Linked DNA regions of Homo sapiens: region 1 is linked to region 2. Evidence: promoter capture Hi-C in 16 types of primary human blood cells and fetal thymus (Javierre and others, 2016). All regions are on one chromosome and are shown on one strand. The core of a region is centred on a gene start or on the middle of the fragment in contact, and the rest is flanking DNA. Distances in the headings are between cores, read along the strand shown.

Region 1 (3,855 bases), core at 232-2,731, 520 kb after region 2:
TAAAGATAATAGCTGTTCTAAGACACTAAACACCACTTACACTACCCATTTCAAGGGCACTAAAAGGGTCCTCTGAAGTCCTTGATTTTATTTAAGTGAAGCATAAATGAATATTGTAATTCAAAGGACAATCAGTAACAGCAGAGGCATTACCCACAAGTAAGATTGATTCTTTCAAGTAGTTTAGACCACTTACTAGGATGAAAAGCTGATTTTTCAATTACTATTATTAATAATTAATATTGGAGGGCCCATGAAGTAAACCTGAAGGCTGGTCATTTGAATTTTAATACATTTTAAAACTGTATTTTGAAGGTAGAAAATGCATCTTATTTAGTTGTGATAATGGAGTGGCATTTTTTTCTTAACATTTCCTTAGTCAACCTTCTTCCATAGTAATTAGAAAAGAGAGAGGCATAAACAGCACTTATTTTCATATTAAAAAGCACTGCATTTGTAAAATACTCCTGTTTTCAATTATATTTTCCCTATGTTTACACTTAAATTAGTTTTTAGTTTCCAAATGTAAGTTGGGGTCATAAGGAGGCAATTCAGGGACATCTTAGGTGTCAAACAGAAGTAGATCAGAGATTTATGGCTAATAACGAGTTCATATTAAAGTAATAATTCTAAAGGCATTATGCTACAATCAACCTGAAGGAAACTTACAGATGATTACACACGGCAAAATTAAAAAATTAATCTGGGCTTGGGACAGTGGCTCACCCCTGTAATCTCAGCACTTTGGGAGGCCAAGGCGGGCAGATCACTTGAGCCCCGGAGACCAGCCTGCGCAACATGACGAGACCCTGTCTCTATAAAAAGAAAATTAGCTGAATGTGGTGGCATGTGCCCATGGTCCCAGCTACCAGAAGGCTGAGGTGGGAGGATTGCTTGAGCCAGGGAGGCTGAGGCTGCTGTGAGCCATGGTCATGCCACTGCACTCTAGCCTGCATGAAAGAGTGAGACCCTGTCTCAAAACAACAACAACAAAAAACTGATCTGCTTCTAATAATCCACCAGAGTGGAGATTGCCTTTGTTTTTTATATACCATAAAATGATTAGTAAAATTAATCTGAAGAAAATATAATCACCTAAATGTGTAGTTCAGGGTATATAACACAGGTGAGTTTCAAATGTGTTTAACTCAAAGTCTTAATAATATGTTTCAATATTTTAGAGCAGAGCTTCTGAAACTTTTTGGTGTTGGGATCCCTTAATGGTCTTAAAAATTATTAAGAACATCAATTATATGTTTATATGGATTTTAACTACTGATAATTACCAAAATGGAGAAATTTTAGAAATATTTAATTCAATTAAAAACAATAAGGCCATTACATGTTAAAGTACAGAACATTTTTATGAAAAAATAATTGTATTTTCTAAAATAACAAAGTGGTGTCTTTTTATATTTTTGCAATTCTCTTTAACAGAAGACAACTGGATTTTGCATTTACTCCTCAATTAACTCTGTTTTGGTTGAGTAGTGAAGAAAATCCAGCCTCACCCACCTATGTAGTTGGAAAAAGGAGATATATTTGAATAGCCTTTTCAGGTAATTGTGGACAGTCCTCTTTTATATTATACCAACACTTGACAAGTCTACTTTCTTAAAAGTTGGTTGTGTAATATAAAACTACATAACTGAATTAACTTTTCCTACTCTATTATAGTAATATTCATTGGTCTATCCACTTTCAACGGATCATTTACCCACTCATGATTTTTAACATCATCTGTTGGTCATTTGGAAAATATCGGCTCACTGAATTAAGCAGATCTTCTCAGTGTCAACACTGAGAAGACATTTTGTCAACACAGCGGAAAAGGCCATAACAACTTAGTATTACTGTGACAACAGTTTTGACTTCATTGAATCCTGAAAGGATCCTGGGGCTTCAAAAGGATCTGCAGACCACACTTAGACAAGCGCCGTTCAGAATCACTTTGGGGACTCAGAGAACCTAAATGACTCTCCCGGTGCAGGAGAACATGCGCACTTCATTCCAGAGGATTCTGACGCTTACCCTGCTTGGTGCAGAACTTAGCGAGTGCCCCCTGTTTAAGAGAACAGTACACTAAAATCTCTAACAAAAGTAAAAAAGTAGTTTCCCTAAGTACTTAGCCAGATACATAAAAGTATTTTTCAAATTCCTATCTTTGAATACTGAACTTTCTTAAAGTGACACTCAAAGGCATGTGATGCATACCTCAAGCATGTGAACTGGGGGTTATGAGTTTGAGCATAAATATGAGCCTCCAAGTTGGCTTCTAAAATGGATCTACATATGTTGGGCTGCCAACTCCTTGTAAGGGTTCTGTGGCTACTGATTCCATATCTTAATGGCTCTATCGGCATTGTAAAAATACTGAATCTTATTTACTATCAATTCGAAGTAATATTTTAATTATTTAATAGTTTAATTTGCTAGCACAAATTATAACCTACTTGAGCATAAAGAACGTTTTAGAAATATTCTTAGTCTAATGCTTAGAATGTTTACATTTTTTTTTTTTCTTCAGGGAAATAAAAATGTTCAGTTCCCTTTTAGGTTTTCAGTCATGTTTGGAGAGCCAAAGAGCATAAGAAAATAGGAAAAGTGATGATAAATGACCTTTCCCAGGTGCATTTGGTATTTTATGGTAAAAAAATTACCAGCAAACCAGTTCTTTCAATCTTCCTCTCCTGTGCAGGCTGGTGCCACGGGACTTGCCCAGCTTTTCCAAGTTCCTACAGGGAAAGGTGAGTGGGGCTAGGAATGAAGCACCAAGAAACAGTAAGAGCTGGAAGGGCAGTTCCCACCTCTAAAGCTGCTGATCCCAGGCCGATGCTACAGATGAGCTTTAGATATTTCCTTCTCTATTTTGTAAGTCTCAAATTGGGGAAAGCACATCCACTTACTCATGGGCATGCTGTGGGTACTTGAAATCACAGGATTGCAAAGTATATCTATGGGGTTGGGGTGAATACATTTTCTTTTCTTTTTTAATAGAGATGTGGGATCTATGTTACCCAGGTTGGTTTTGAACTCTTGGCTTCAAGCAATCCTCCAGCCTTGGCCTCCCAAAGTGCTGGGATTATAGGCGTGAGCCACTTTCCCTGGCCATGAACACATTTTTCTATTATTTTATATTATCTTATAAAAGTGCAGATTTTGGAGGTTACTGAAAAGTTGATATTAAAGTTTAAGATATAAAAGCAGGTGTCACCGTGGCAGCTTTTATTCTATAACTTAAAACATGATTAGCGTTTATTCTCTGCTGCTAGTGGTAGAGATTGCTCAGCATCAACGTATTTACATCCCCTTTGAAGAGAAGCTTTAAAACTGGCAAGTATGCACTGGGACTGTAGGACAAAGTTTTAGGGGCGTAGACTACACTCCACTGTAGTGTAGACTGCTCCTCCACTGTTGACCATCAGTGGCACCGGCGTATCACTTCTTGTACTTACGATGGCTTCAATAACTGGACAATTCTTTGTCTAGCAAACAAACCACAAGTTTATTAAATGAGAAATGCCCAGTTTAAAAGGATGTCCTATTAGTGGTAAATTACTATGCCTTTAAAAACTGCCTTCTTGTCCAGGAGCGGTGGCTCACCCCTGTAATCCCAGCACTTTGGGAGGCCAAGGCGGGAGGATCACTTGAGCCCAGAAGTTCAAGACCGTCTCGGGCAACATAGCGAGATCCCTGCCTCTTACTAAAAGGAAAAAAGAAAAAAGAAAAAAATGACCTTTTAACAGTTTGAAAACATCCTGGATACACAACAAGATCATTCAAAATGCAGTGGAATTTACCTTACCAATTTATAATTTTGGTTTGTGATAAATCAGTCAAATGAGAATTAAAATG
Region 2 (3,705 bases), core at 710-3,209:
GGTCTTGCCTCCAGCTGCCACCTCTTTCACTTTCTTCAGGAAGCCTTTTTTTTTTTTTTTTTTTTTTTTTGAGACAGGGTCTCACTCTGTTGCCCAGGTTGGAGTGCAGTGACACGCTCACAGCTCATTGCAGCCTCAATCTCCCAGCTCTGCCAGTAAACAGATGGGCCTCTCTGGACCCCAGTTTCCAAAGGTTGAAGGTCAAGACAATAGCTCTCAATTCCCTACTTTTGTTAGGATTGTATGAAGGGTCCTTCCAGCACTGTCCCAGTATGGTGCTCGGCTAATGGAAAACCAATCTCTGTAACTTGGACTAGTTTTATTCCCACCTTATCTGGGAATTATAAGGGTATAAGGTTGTAAAAATATAAAGTTAACAATCTGACCCTCACTTGGGAATCATAAAATTACAATCTGATATCCACTTTACTTGGAACTTATGGTCAGCCCTCTGTATCCTCAATCAACCTGGGACTGAAAGTATTTGAAAAAATTACAATAACAAAAAATAATAAAAAATCATAGAAATAAAAAAGTACAGTGTAATATCTATTTACATAGCATTTACATTGTATTAGGTATTATAAGTACAGCAGGTCCTGGAATAACATCATTTCATCATTTTGCTCAGTGGTTTTCTTATAATGATGAGAAAAAAATAGATTTCTGGCTGGGTCCACTGTCACGTTTTATCCATGTCTGTGTGGATTTTCTCTGTCTTCTGGTGTCCTGTCACATCCCAAAGCCGTGCAGTGCACTTTAGGTAAATTGGTGCATCTACACGATCCGAGTGTGAGTGTGGGTGTGTGTGAGCACACCCTGTGAGGTGCCCTGAGTTGGAATAAGCCGGTAAAAATGATCTCACTTTTATTAATCTTTATTTTTCTCTAAGCGAGAGGGATAGGGGGTGTTTAAAAAAAACTTTTTCTTTGAGACAGAGCTGTGCTCTGTCGCCCAGGCTAGAGTACAGTGACATGATCTCGGCTCACTGCAACCTCTGGCTCCTGGGTTCAAGCGATTCTCCTGCCTCAGCCTCCCGAGTAGCTGAGAATACAGGCACGCGCCACCACACCCAGCCAATTTTCTGTATTTTTAGTAGAGATGGGGTTTCGCCATGTTGGCCAAGCTGGTCTTGAACTTCTGGCCTCACGTGATCTGCCCACCTCAGCCTCCCAAAGTGTTGGGATTATAGGCGTGAGCTAAAAATCTTCCTTAAATATATGCATGGCTCACACTTATTTCAATGTTTAATATTAGAAGTGTTTTGGTCTTTATTTCGAAGTTTAGGGGCGATTTTGTGACCACAGATATGTTGTAGGAACTTCACTCATATCAATTAGCCTGTGGTCAAACTGTTTTCCTTACAGTCATTTGGCTTAAAGTTTCAGTTTCCAAGAACCCCTCCACGATGTTAGGTGAGGACTTAGGGAATGTGGAGATGACCTAAAGTTTATGATGGGAAGATGTGTGTAGGTGATATGCAAACACTTTTTTTTTTTTTTTTTTTTACCAAGGACTTGAGCATTTGTGGACGTGGGTCCCCTGGAGGGGCCCTGGAACCAATCAGGACTATAAAATCCTTTTAAGGTTTTAAGAAGAGCATTGTTATCTCTGTGGTACTGACGAAGACCCCGCAAGCTCACCGAGATTAAGTGCCCCTGCCTAAGGTTACAAAGCCTCTTATCCTCAGGCCACCTCCAGTACAGCAAATCCAAGCCCTCCCGTCTAAACTTGGCGCCCTGAGTACCAAGGGTCACCTCGGCCTTTCAGGCTGAAGGGAGGGAGGCTGAGTCTCAGGGCAGAGTCTGAGTCCCACTCCGCACCCCACCCTCTGTCTGGTACAGCTTACCAAACCAAAGTGCCCAAAGCCGTGACATCCCGGCCGGCGGCTCGCAGGCCCCCGCCCTCCGCACGTCACGGCCGCCGGGTGCAGTGCCCCCTAGGGGCCCCTGGGACGAGGAGGAAGCGCCAGGTCCTTCCCGCCGCCGCCGCCGCCGCCGCCGCCTGCTCCCCTGGCACGCGCCCCGCCGCCCTCGGCAGCCGCAGCTCCGTGTCCCCTGAGAACCAGCCGTCCCGCGCCATGGGCACGCGTCTGCCGCTCGTCCTGCGCCAGCTCCGCCGCCCGCCCCAGCCCCCGGGCCCTCCGCGCCGCCTCCGTGTGCCCTGTCGCGCTAGCAGCGGCGGCGGCGGAGGCGGCGGCGGTGGCCGGGAGGGCCTGCTTGGACAGCGGCGGCCGCAGGATGGCCAGGCCCGGAGCAGCTGCAGCCCCGGCGGCCGAACGCCCGCGGCGCGGGACTCCATCGTCAGGTGAGTGTCGGGTCTGGCCCTGGCCCAGGTCTCCAGCGGCTGTGGCCCCGACCCAGGGGCGGAGCGCCCGGGACCGCCGTGGGGAGCGGGGCGCGGGGCTGCGAGTGTTTGGTGCCAACTCATTAGGGGGGCCGGGCGGTGTGTCGGGAAACGCGGGCTTGGGCACTGCGGCCGGGAGCGCTGGCGGAGAACGGGGGATCCAGTACCCGACCGGGCCCGCAGCGCAGGTGGGCGTGGGCATCTCCAATGGGCGCCTAGCGGCATGGACCGCACGCCCGGCTCCACGTGCGCAGCCGGCCGCCGGCTCTGATGCAATCGCGCCGGGCGCGACCCAGACGGTAAAGGGGCGGTGCGGCTGGGGCGGAAACCAGGGGAGGGGGCGAGGAGCAGGAGGAGGGCGGGGCTGCGGCTCGGCGCGCCGGCTGGCCCGGGGTTCGGGAAGGGCAAGCGGAGCTCGGGAGAGGCGGGCTCGGGCCCAGCGCCGCCCGCGCGAAGCTCCCTGGTGTTGTGCGCCCTTCCCCGCGCGCGGCCCCTCCTGCTGGGCTGGGGTCTGTGGCTGACGTCCGCTTTTCCCGGAACGGCAAAGGTGGAGCCGGGCCCCCGGGACAGCCGCCGGGGGGAATCCGAGAGGTCTCAGCGCTGGTTTCCAGCTTCGCCGCGCAGCGCCCACGGAGTCCCCGCGCAGCTGGGTTTGCAGGGTTTTCTGCGGGCCCAGAGCGAACTGGGAGCCCCGGGCCCGGCCTTTCCCGTCCCGGTCCCCGCCCCTGGGCTCCAGCCTTCCCCGCCCTCGCCCAGAGGGGCGCACGGGTCTCGGGCCTTGCAGGGCGAGCCCTTCGGGACAACTTGGGGGTGGCAAGAAAGCCCCTTCCGCCTCCCTCGGAACTGGGATTAGGAACGAGTTCCAGGATGCGGTTTCCCCGGCCAGCGGACCACCTCCTCCATTCACATCCTCTTCCCTTTCCTTCTAGCCTTCTTTCTTAGTCATTGCCTGCTTGCCTTTCTCTCTGCCTTTCCTTCCTCCCTCTGCTCTCCCATTTTCCTCCCCACTCCCCTTCTCCCATCTCAGTAAAATACGTTTCCTAGGCTCTTTATTATGTGGCGGATGATTTTAAGGGGCCATTTATTTAGTTTTTCTTGTTCTCTGTCTTCTTTTTCTTTTAGAAATGGAGTCTCGCTTTGTTGCTCAGGCTGGAGTTCAGTGGTGCCATCTCGGCTCAATGCAGCCTCCGCCTCCTGGGCTCAAGCGATTCTCCCGCCTTAGCCTCCAGTGTAACTGGGACCACAGGTGTGCGCTACCATGCCCGGATTATTTTATTTTATTTTCATAGAGACAGAGCACCACTCTGTTACCAGGCTGGTCTGGAACTCCTGGGCGCAAGCCATCATCCCTGCCCCCAA

Evidence for each region. The method cuts DNA at HindIII sites, captures the fragments that hold promoters and counts their contacts. A CHiCAGO score of 5 or more calls a contact.
Region 1: a fragment that was not itself captured here is called in contact with the fragment with the promoter of MTHFD1L in region 2 in 1 of 17 cell types (megakaryocytes); the score reaches 5.1 in megakaryocytes.

What each region holds. Positions count from the first base shown.
Region 1 is chr6:151,385,557-151,389,411 of GRCh38, forward strand. All of the region lies in intron 1 of ZBTB2 (zinc finger and BTB domain containing 2), which reads right to left. LOC124901232 (translation initiation factor IF-2-like) reads left to right here and starts at 2,764. Exons shown (of 3, transcript XM_047419613.1): 1 at 2,764-2,781. The coding sequence starts at 2,764. RefSeq lists an enhancer at 1-65. The HindIII fragment of the contact is 3,678 bases long and covers 1-3,320 here.
Region 2 is chr6:150,863,743-150,867,447 of GRCh38, forward strand. It overlaps MTHFD1L (methylenetetrahydrofolate dehydrogenase (NADP+ dependent) 1 like), which reads left to right and starts at 1,960. Exons shown (of 28, transcript NM_015440.5): 1 at 1,960-2,307. The coding sequence starts at 2,081. RefSeq lists silencers at 1,802-2,031, 2,092-2,501, 2,662-2,861, 2,982-3,131. The HindIII fragment of the contact is 12,675 bases long and covers 1-3,705 here.